Linked DNA regions of Homo sapiens: regions 1 and 3 are each linked to region 2. Evidence: promoter capture Hi-C in human tissues and cell types (Jung and others, 2019). All regions are on one chromosome and are shown on one strand. Each heading gives the region's core, a stretch centred on a gene start or on the middle of the fragment in contact. The rest is flanking DNA. Distances are from core to core; before and after follow the strand shown.

The links. Contacts are between HindIII fragments. The study calls those that stand out against the background at their distance.
Region 1: a fragment that was not itself captured here is called in contact with the fragment with the promoter of SEL1L2 in region 2 in 1 of the 25 tissues and cell types used here (mesenchymal stem cells).
Region 3: a fragment that was not itself captured here is called in contact with the fragment with the promoter of SEL1L2 in region 2 in 2 of the 25 tissues and cell types used here (mesendoderm cells and pancreas).

The regions. Positions count from the first base shown.
Region 1 is chr20:13,789,175-13,791,874 of GRCh38, reverse strand. All of the region lies in intron 3 of NDUFAF5 (NADH:ubiquinone oxidoreductase complex assembly factor 5), which reads right to left. Among named protein-coding and RNA genes, the nearest start is that of NDUFAF5, 5.5 kb to the right of the region's middle. The HindIII fragment of the contact is 3,687 bases long and covers 1-2,700 here.
Region 2 is chr20:13,989,280-13,991,979 of GRCh38, reverse strand. It overlaps SEL1L2 (SEL1L2 adaptor subunit of SYVN1 ubiquitin ligase), which reads left to right and starts at 1,366. Exons shown (of 20, transcript NM_025229.2): 1 at 1,366-1,503. The coding sequence starts at 1,446. It also overlaps the pseudogene TRE-CTC10-1. The HindIII fragment of the contact is 28,140 bases long and covers 1-2,700 here.
Region 3 is chr20:13,843,050-13,845,749 of GRCh38, reverse strand. No RefSeq gene overlaps it. Among named protein-coding and RNA genes, the nearest start is that of NDUFAF5, 59 kb to the right of the region's middle. The HindIII fragment of the contact is 5,333 bases long and covers 1-2,700 here.

The DNA of each region.
Region 1 (2,700 bases), core at 106-2,605, 200 kb after region 2:
GGGTGTAGCATATTCATATGGGGCCACACACACTGATGAACACTACTATGGATAGACTACAGGGAGTAAAAAGAATGAAGGCAACCAGACAGCATTCATGTAGTACCAGAGTGCATGCGAACAGGAGGAACATTGTTATGGTGTTTCAAAGTTCCCATCTCTTGTGAGGCCTGGCTCTATTTCTGGATCCCTGAGTTACATAAGAGCCTCTCTGTAACAAATGTCTCTGTGTTTAAACTGGCTTCAGCACATTTTTGCTTTCAACAATCAAAAGATACCTTACTAAGACACTTTCCATCTTACTATTCCTGGCATCTTTATTGGCTCTTCCTCTTTCTCCCAACCCTAAGTACAATTGCAGAAGGTTCTTTTCTATATTCTTGCCTCAGAGAGTTTACCTATTTCTACGGCTTCAATTGTCACTTCTGAAAGGGACTTCCAAATAAGAACTATAGCCTCCTTTGACAGGTTTACTTTGCCTCACTTAATCCCCTTACCAACCTTTTGAGATGGGTATTATTGATCATATTTTATAGAAACTGAGGTCTAGAGCAATTGATTGGCCCAAGGTCTGAGTATACACAGACAGTGGCAGAGCTGAAGTTTGAAGCCCTGACTTCAAGTCAATGCTCTTAACCTCAATATCCCAATTCCAGTTCCACATTTCCAACTACCTGCCAGCTATTTATACTACCATATTCCACTGCCATCTCAAACTCAACATATCTAAAACAGGAATGATCCCGTGCTCCTTGCCACATCACATCCCCTGAATTTTCCAGTCACAAAAGGTGTAACTTAAACTCTAAAGTTATCTTGCAATAGTCATTTAATAAATACTCATTGTGATTTAGGTACTAGGATTTAGTAGTGATCAAAAATGAGCAAATCCAGTAAGAGAAGAAAGACACCAAATAAACATACATCAGGAGCTTGTAAGTGCTATGGAAGCAAATAAAGCAACTAGTCGGCAGAAAGCAGGGGCACTATTTTCTAAAGCAGTCACGGGAGGAATCTTTGATGAAGTCAGCTGAGTAAAGATCTGACAGGTGAGCAACTAAGACACACAGATACCTTGGGGAAGAGCATAGAGCAAAGCTCTGGCCTGTTTGAGAGACTGCAAGGAGGCCAGGGTTGCTGAAAAGTTGGGAGTGAAAGGAAGAAGATGGGATCAGAGACATGATAAAAAAACAGAATCCTGAGGGTCTTATAGATTAGGACTCTGGATTACTACTAAACTAGATGACAAACTAACAGTTCTGGGCAGAGGACTGACAATGATTTGATTTGTGTTTTACGAGGATACTTTGCCATGACAACAGACTGTCAGGGACAAAGGTAAAGCAGGGAGACCAATAGGAGGCTACTGCAATAATCTAGGCAAGGGGCGATGATAGCTGAACAGCACGGTGATGGGGAAGGTGGCAAGAAGACATAAGAGTTTGGTTATATTTTGAAATGCAAATAAAAGCTGCTGACGGATTAGATGTGGGAGAGAAGGATATAAGAGGAATCAATAAAAATGTTTTTTGGCGTTGAGTTACTAAAAGAATAGATTTGCTCTGCCTACCATATCTGATCAGTCATCAAGTTCTGTTGATACTTCCAGGTCTCTCTCATACATCCCATCATTTATATGTGCTGGCTCTGCATGGGTGGCAGGCCTTTATTTCTCATGCCTGCAATGCCTTTAACACAGCCTTCTGATGGGTTTCTCTACCCTTTCTCTTCTTCAATCTTTCTCGAATGCCATCCCCAGATTAATCTTCCTTAAACATCACTATATCACACCCTACAGCATTCTACCTCTGTGCCTTTCCTCCTGCCATGCCCTGATTTCCAATGCTAGGAACCACCAACTCAAATTCTTTCAAATCCCAGGTCAGATTCTGTGCCCCCTGAGAATCCTTGACCACATGAACTCCTACTGATTTTTTCTTTTCCCCTAATTCCTGTTGCACTTTAATGACTGCACCATTTCTATGGCATTTACTATTACCAATAATAGTGTTTTAGGAGCCCCACCACTCCCTTCCTCACCCTGGCCCAAGTCTATGGTTTTATCTAAGCAGATTTTACGTAGAAATTCCACTTTATGAGGCTGGGCATGGTGGCTCACGCCTGTAATCCCAGCACTTTGGGAGGCCAAGGCGGACAGATCATGAGGTCAGGAGATCAAGACCATCCTGGCTAACACGGTGAAACCCCGTCTCTACTAAAAAATACAAAAAATTAGCCAGGCGTGGTGGCGGGCACCTGTAGACCCAGGTACTCGGGAGGCTGAGGCAGGAGAATGGCATGAACCTGGAAGGCAAAGCTTGCAGTGAGCTGAGATTGCACCACTGCACTCCAGCCTGGGCAACAGAGCGAGACTCTGTCTCAAAAAAAAAAAAAAGAAATTCCACTTTAAGGCTGGGCGCAGTAGCTCACGCCTGTCATCCCAGCGCTTTGGGATGCCGAGACAGGCGGATCACCTGAGGGCAGGAGTTCAAGACCGGCCTTGCCAACATGGTGAAACCCCATCTCTACCAAAAATACAAAAATTAGCAGGGCATAGTGGTGCACCCCCATAATCCCAGCTACTTGGGAGGCTGCGGCAGGAGAATCGTTCAAACCCGGGAGGCAGAGGTTGCAGTGAGCCGAGATCGTGCCACTGTACTCCAGCCTGGGCAACAGAGTGAGACTCCATCTCAGAAAAAA
Region 2 (2,700 bases), core at 117-2,616:
CTGCATTGCAGTGGCACAATCTCTGCTCACTGCAACCTCCACCCCTCAGGCCCCTGGCCCCAGGATTCAAGCACTTCTCATGCCTCAGCCTCCTGAGTACCTGAAACTACAGGCGCATACCACCACGTCCAGCTAATTTTTGTATTTTTAGTAGACACGGGGTTTCGCCATGGTGGTCAGCCTGGTCTCGAACTCCTGGCCTCAAGTAATCCAACTGCCTTAGGCTCCCAAAGTGCTGGGATTACAAGTGTGAGCTGCCACGCCCAGCCAACATTAAGGATCTTGAGAGAGAGAGAGATTGTTCTGGATCATGTTGGTGGGCCCTAAATGTAATCACAAGTATCTTTATAAGAGGGGCACAAAGGGAGATTAAACTACAGAAGGCAAGTGATGACTGAGCAGAGACTGAAATGATGTGGTCACAAATCAAGGAATGCTGGCAGCCACTTAGAAGCTGAAAAATTCCAGGCCAAGAATGGATTCTTCCCTGGAGCCTCCAGGAGGAGCTAGCCTTGTCTTTGATTTTAGCCCTGTAAGAATGGTTTTGGAATTCTGGTCTCTAGAACTATGAGAGAATAAATTCCTGTTGTTTTAACCCATTACGTTTGTGGTAATTTGTTATCACAGCAATGGGAAACTAATAAAAGGAATAAAACTGTAAATTCAAAACAATAAAATGTCTATTTCTAAAGTAATGACCTGGACAGACTGTAAAAGTTGGATATTTTTTGTAGGCATAATTTCTCAACTAGCTCTGTGCCTTGGATATTTTTAATATTTATATGTTTTCCCTAAATATTCATTTTGATTTCTCGTAGCTTTGAAGGTACCACTTGTGAGATGTCTGTATTATCTGAGGTATGTAAAGACATTGTTAAACAGTCTTTGTTTGCCTTTGTTCCAGTAAATCCTCAGCAGTTTCTAACTGGAAAAGAGGATAAAGATTTTCATCCAGATTGGGAACAAAGCAGACTTGGCCCATTGTTTCTTTTCCGCCATAGCCTAGAGATACCAGCTTACAGGATGATGTCAGATCAGTTCATGTACCTTAATTGTGTTTTTACATAAGTGTAGTTTGTACCTCTAGAGGCAACATAAAAATAAGAACTTCCAGCACCCCTGAACACAGTTGAACGTGTGGACACGTACGAGTCGGACTTCTGGTCCCTTCCTTTCATGTTAGAGAGCCACCCCTAATTTCTAGCCTACCCCTTATCTTCAGCCAGAGGAATAGCAGTGGATCCTTTCCACAGCCTACATTCTCCAGCAGCTGCCTTCATTCCGGCTTGAAAGGAACACTCTGGCAGCCCATTGGCCCAAGAGTAAGGAAATGGTTGCTTAGCAACTGACTCCTGCCCCCACCACAGTCCCTGAGAAGAGGAGCTCTTGGGCCAATCACCTAGTTTCTGCCTGTGTTACAGTGAAGAGAAGCTGCTTAAGAGAAGATGAAGCCCTTGTCTCTGTTAATAGAGATATTGATAATTCTTGGGGTCACAATTAAAAGTAAGTTTTTTTGTCCTTAGAGTTCTCTATGAGGGTCTCTTCTCTTTGCTCAAACAGCGCCAAGGGCAGAAGCCAATTAAAAGACTAGAAGTAACTTTACTATATCCCTAACTAATGCCATTTTTGTACAGGTACTTTAAAATGTCCAATAAGAATAATAGATGATAATGATAGTCTCACTTGGGATAATACTTGGGAAGGGTGTGTACTTGGGAAGGGTGTGGGGGATGGGGAAAAAACAAATCTATGAGGAAACCACTACAGTAATTGTTATAAAGTAGGGATATTTAGGGCAAGTTGTTAAGTGTTATTAAATTTAGAATATCATAAAGGTCTAGTTCCAAGACTTTAAAGGAAAAATATAAGACTCAAAGAGTGTGAAAGATGTATAAACATGCTTTTTTAAAATATTTACACAATAACAATTTCACTTCCAAAGTTTCAATGTTTCCTAAATAGTTACTATCTGAAAATGGAAGTTATTTTCCATCTTGTTTCTTTGGCCATTTTTTTAGTTACTTTTTACCCAATCCTCATATAATGTGCTCATGATAAATTCAATTTAAGAAATATGTATTTGGTCCCTGCTTGTCTAGTGGTTAGAATTCAGCACTCTCACTGCCACAGCCCAGGTTCAATTCCCTGTCAGAGAAAAGGAAAAAAAAAGAAATATTTGGATTTTACCCAGAAATGTAAGATTGGTTTACCACCCATAAATCAATGTAACAATCACATCAACAGAATAAAAGACAAAGATCACATGATCATTCTAATCTAGTAAAAGCATTTGACAAAATTCAACAGGCTTTGTGATAAAAATGTGTGACAAACTAAGAATGGAAGGAAACTTTATCAACCTGATAGAAGATATTGAAAACCCAAAGCTACTATATTTAATGGTGAAAGACTGACTGCTTCATCCCTAACATCAGGAATAAGACAAGGATGTCCACTTTTGCCATTTCTGTTCAACATTGTACTGGAAGTTCTAGCTATGGCAATTACACAAGAAACAAAAGTAGAAGATATCAAGCTTGGAAAGAAAGAAGTAAAATGATCTGTATTCACAGAAGACATGATCTTGTATACAGAAAATCGTATGGAATCAACTACGAAACTATTAGAACTAATAAATGAGCTCCATAACAAATGCAGGATAAATACAAAAAAAAAGTTCTATTTCTATACAGTAGCAGT
Region 3 (2,700 bases), core at 40-2,539, 150 kb after region 2:
CCTATAATCCCAGCTACTCGGGAGGCTGAGGCAAGAGAATCACTTGAACCCAGGAGGCGGAGGCTGCAGTGAGCCGAAATCACACCACTGCACTCTAGCCTGGTGACAGAGTGAGACTCTGTCTCAGGAAAAAAAAAAAAAAAAAAAAAATCTAATTTGCTTTTGTGACTCCCTTGATTTCCTCCCCCAATTCTTCATTAAATTGGAGTAGCTCTTCAAGTAAATCCATTTTTCAAAGGCAAGTCAGGTAAATAATTTTGTTTCTCTGGAGCAGGGGTCCAGAGTCATTTTCTCAGTAACATTCTCCTGGAATTCTTTTCTCCAAAATCTTGAGTAGTGGAGGTGCTATATAGTTTGCTGCATTCCCCTCACTGGGCATCCCAGAAAGCCCTAGAGAAGAGGGCATGGTGAGGCTGAGAAGAGAGGAAAGAAACATTTTGAAGCACCTGCTATGAGCCAGGCTCTGTTTCCATCTGTTTTCTCATTTCATCTTCATGATGAGGCTAGGAGGTAGCTAGAATGACCTCTGTTTAACACAGGAGGAAACTGAGGCCAGAAGAAGCTAGAAAAGATCACGTAGCTGATAAATAATGGAGCTGTGATTTGAGTCCAGATCTAACACCACAGATGTTCTTTCCTCTATGTTACGGTTCCAGTTATTGCTTGCTTCTTAACAAACTTCTCCAAAAGTTAGGGTCTTAAAACAACAATCACTTCATTTTATCTCAAGATTTTGTGGGTCAGGAATTTGGGCAGGGTGTGGTCAGGTGATTCTTCTGGTCACTTAGTGGATGGGCTGTTCTAGAATCCAAGACAGGTTTACTCACTCAGCAGTGACTGTTGACCAGTATACCCACATCCCAGATGCGGCCTCTTGGCATGGTGGACAGAGCATTTGGGCTTTTTACACTGTAGCTCAGCATTCCCACAGAGAATGTTCACAGAGACACAGGCAAAAGCCACAGCTTTGCTAAGACCAAGCCTCAGAAGTTCCAGAACATCCCTTCCACCATGTTCCGTTAGTCAGGCATTATACTCCGTCTCTCAGTGAGAGAAGTAGCAAAGAATTTGCAGCCATATTTAACCTACTATAAAAGATACTGTTTAAAAATCTACCAATGGTTACATAAATTACAGTACAAAAATTGGCAGAAAAAAAATGCAGCCCAAGCCTGAGCTGCCTGTTTTGGAAAACAAGGATTAGACAGCCCAGTTAGACGCGTGCCTGGCTCTCTTCATCTTCCCACCTTTCAGACTGAAGAAATGCAGATGTGTGAAGGTAAGTGGAGGGGGGAAGAGATGTCCTCCTCTGTTCCTTAGCTAAACACACACACACCCTCACATTGGCCGCTACACACACGCACACACACACACACACACACACACACTCTTGAATAATGCTTAGTTCTTTGCTTTGGCTCAAGAGACATGAGCCAAGAGATGCAGAGTCCCAGCATGGTTGGGACTCTCTGTCTGGGGCACCCTAGGTGCAGGCTCCACTCCTGTGTCTCAAGATTCATTCCTGACACGCAGTGGGTGGGAGACACACCCCAGACCCTCTCAACCACCTCCCATCCTCATTCAATTTCCGTTCCCGAACCCACAGTCCCCATAAGCCTAGCTCCTCTGCCTCAGCTCCTGGCTGAGGTCCTCCTGTGGGGATATGACCTTTAGCATGGGTTGCTGTCAGCCATCCTCTGCCCTAGGGTTCTGCTGCTGGATGGGGGAACACAGGAAATTGTGCATCCTTGGAGTGGAGAGTGAGAAAAGCAGCCCTCACTATGGACTGGCCTCTAGATGGGAATGTATCAAATAAATAAATTGAACTTCTCGTGAACTGTGATGGTCGATCTTATGCTCATGTGTTCCCTAAGCCTTATTATGCACAAAGAGCATCTACTTCTTCCCAGTTTTTCTTTTTTCTTTAGAGATGGGGTCTCACTATGTGGCCCAGGCTGGATTGGAATTCCTGTGTTCAAGTGACTCTCCTGCCTCAGCCTCTTGAGTAGCTGGGACTACAGGCACACACCAGTGTGTCCAGCTCCCAGCTTTGGGTTTTAATATCAAAGTTACCCCCTTATTAGTTTAGCACTGGGTGGCGCTGGGCTAGGTATTAAAGTGTGGGAAAAACCCTTCCAAACCATCCTGCTAGTCAGGTAGTTACTGACTGGAGACTCATGGTCTAGAAAATTCATGGTTTTGAATTTTCAAATTTTAATTTTACATTGCATTTTATCCTATCTTCGAGTAAGTGATTAGAAAACCCAGAACTCCCATTATTAAAAATAAACCTTCACAAATTGTCTGGCCACGAATGTCACCTTGACATTGTTTCATTTTCAGCAACTTCAATGAGCTTTACCTGAAAATTACTCCAAGTTCTTCCAGGCTCTCCCACTGTCTTGTACTGTTCCCCACATCATTTAGCAACAAGAACACATGGACCCATGGCCGGGGGCAGTGTCTCACACCTGTAATTCTAGCACTTGGGAGGTCGAGGCGGGTGGATCACCTGAGGTCAGGAGTTCAAGACCAGCCTGGCCAACATGGTGAAAACCCCATCTCTACTAAAAATACAAAAATTAGCTGGGCATGGTGGCAGATGCCTGCAATCCCAGCTACTCGGGAGGCTGAGACAGGAGAATTGCTTGAATCCGGGAGGTGGAGGTTGCAGTGAGGCCGAGATCATGCCATTGCACT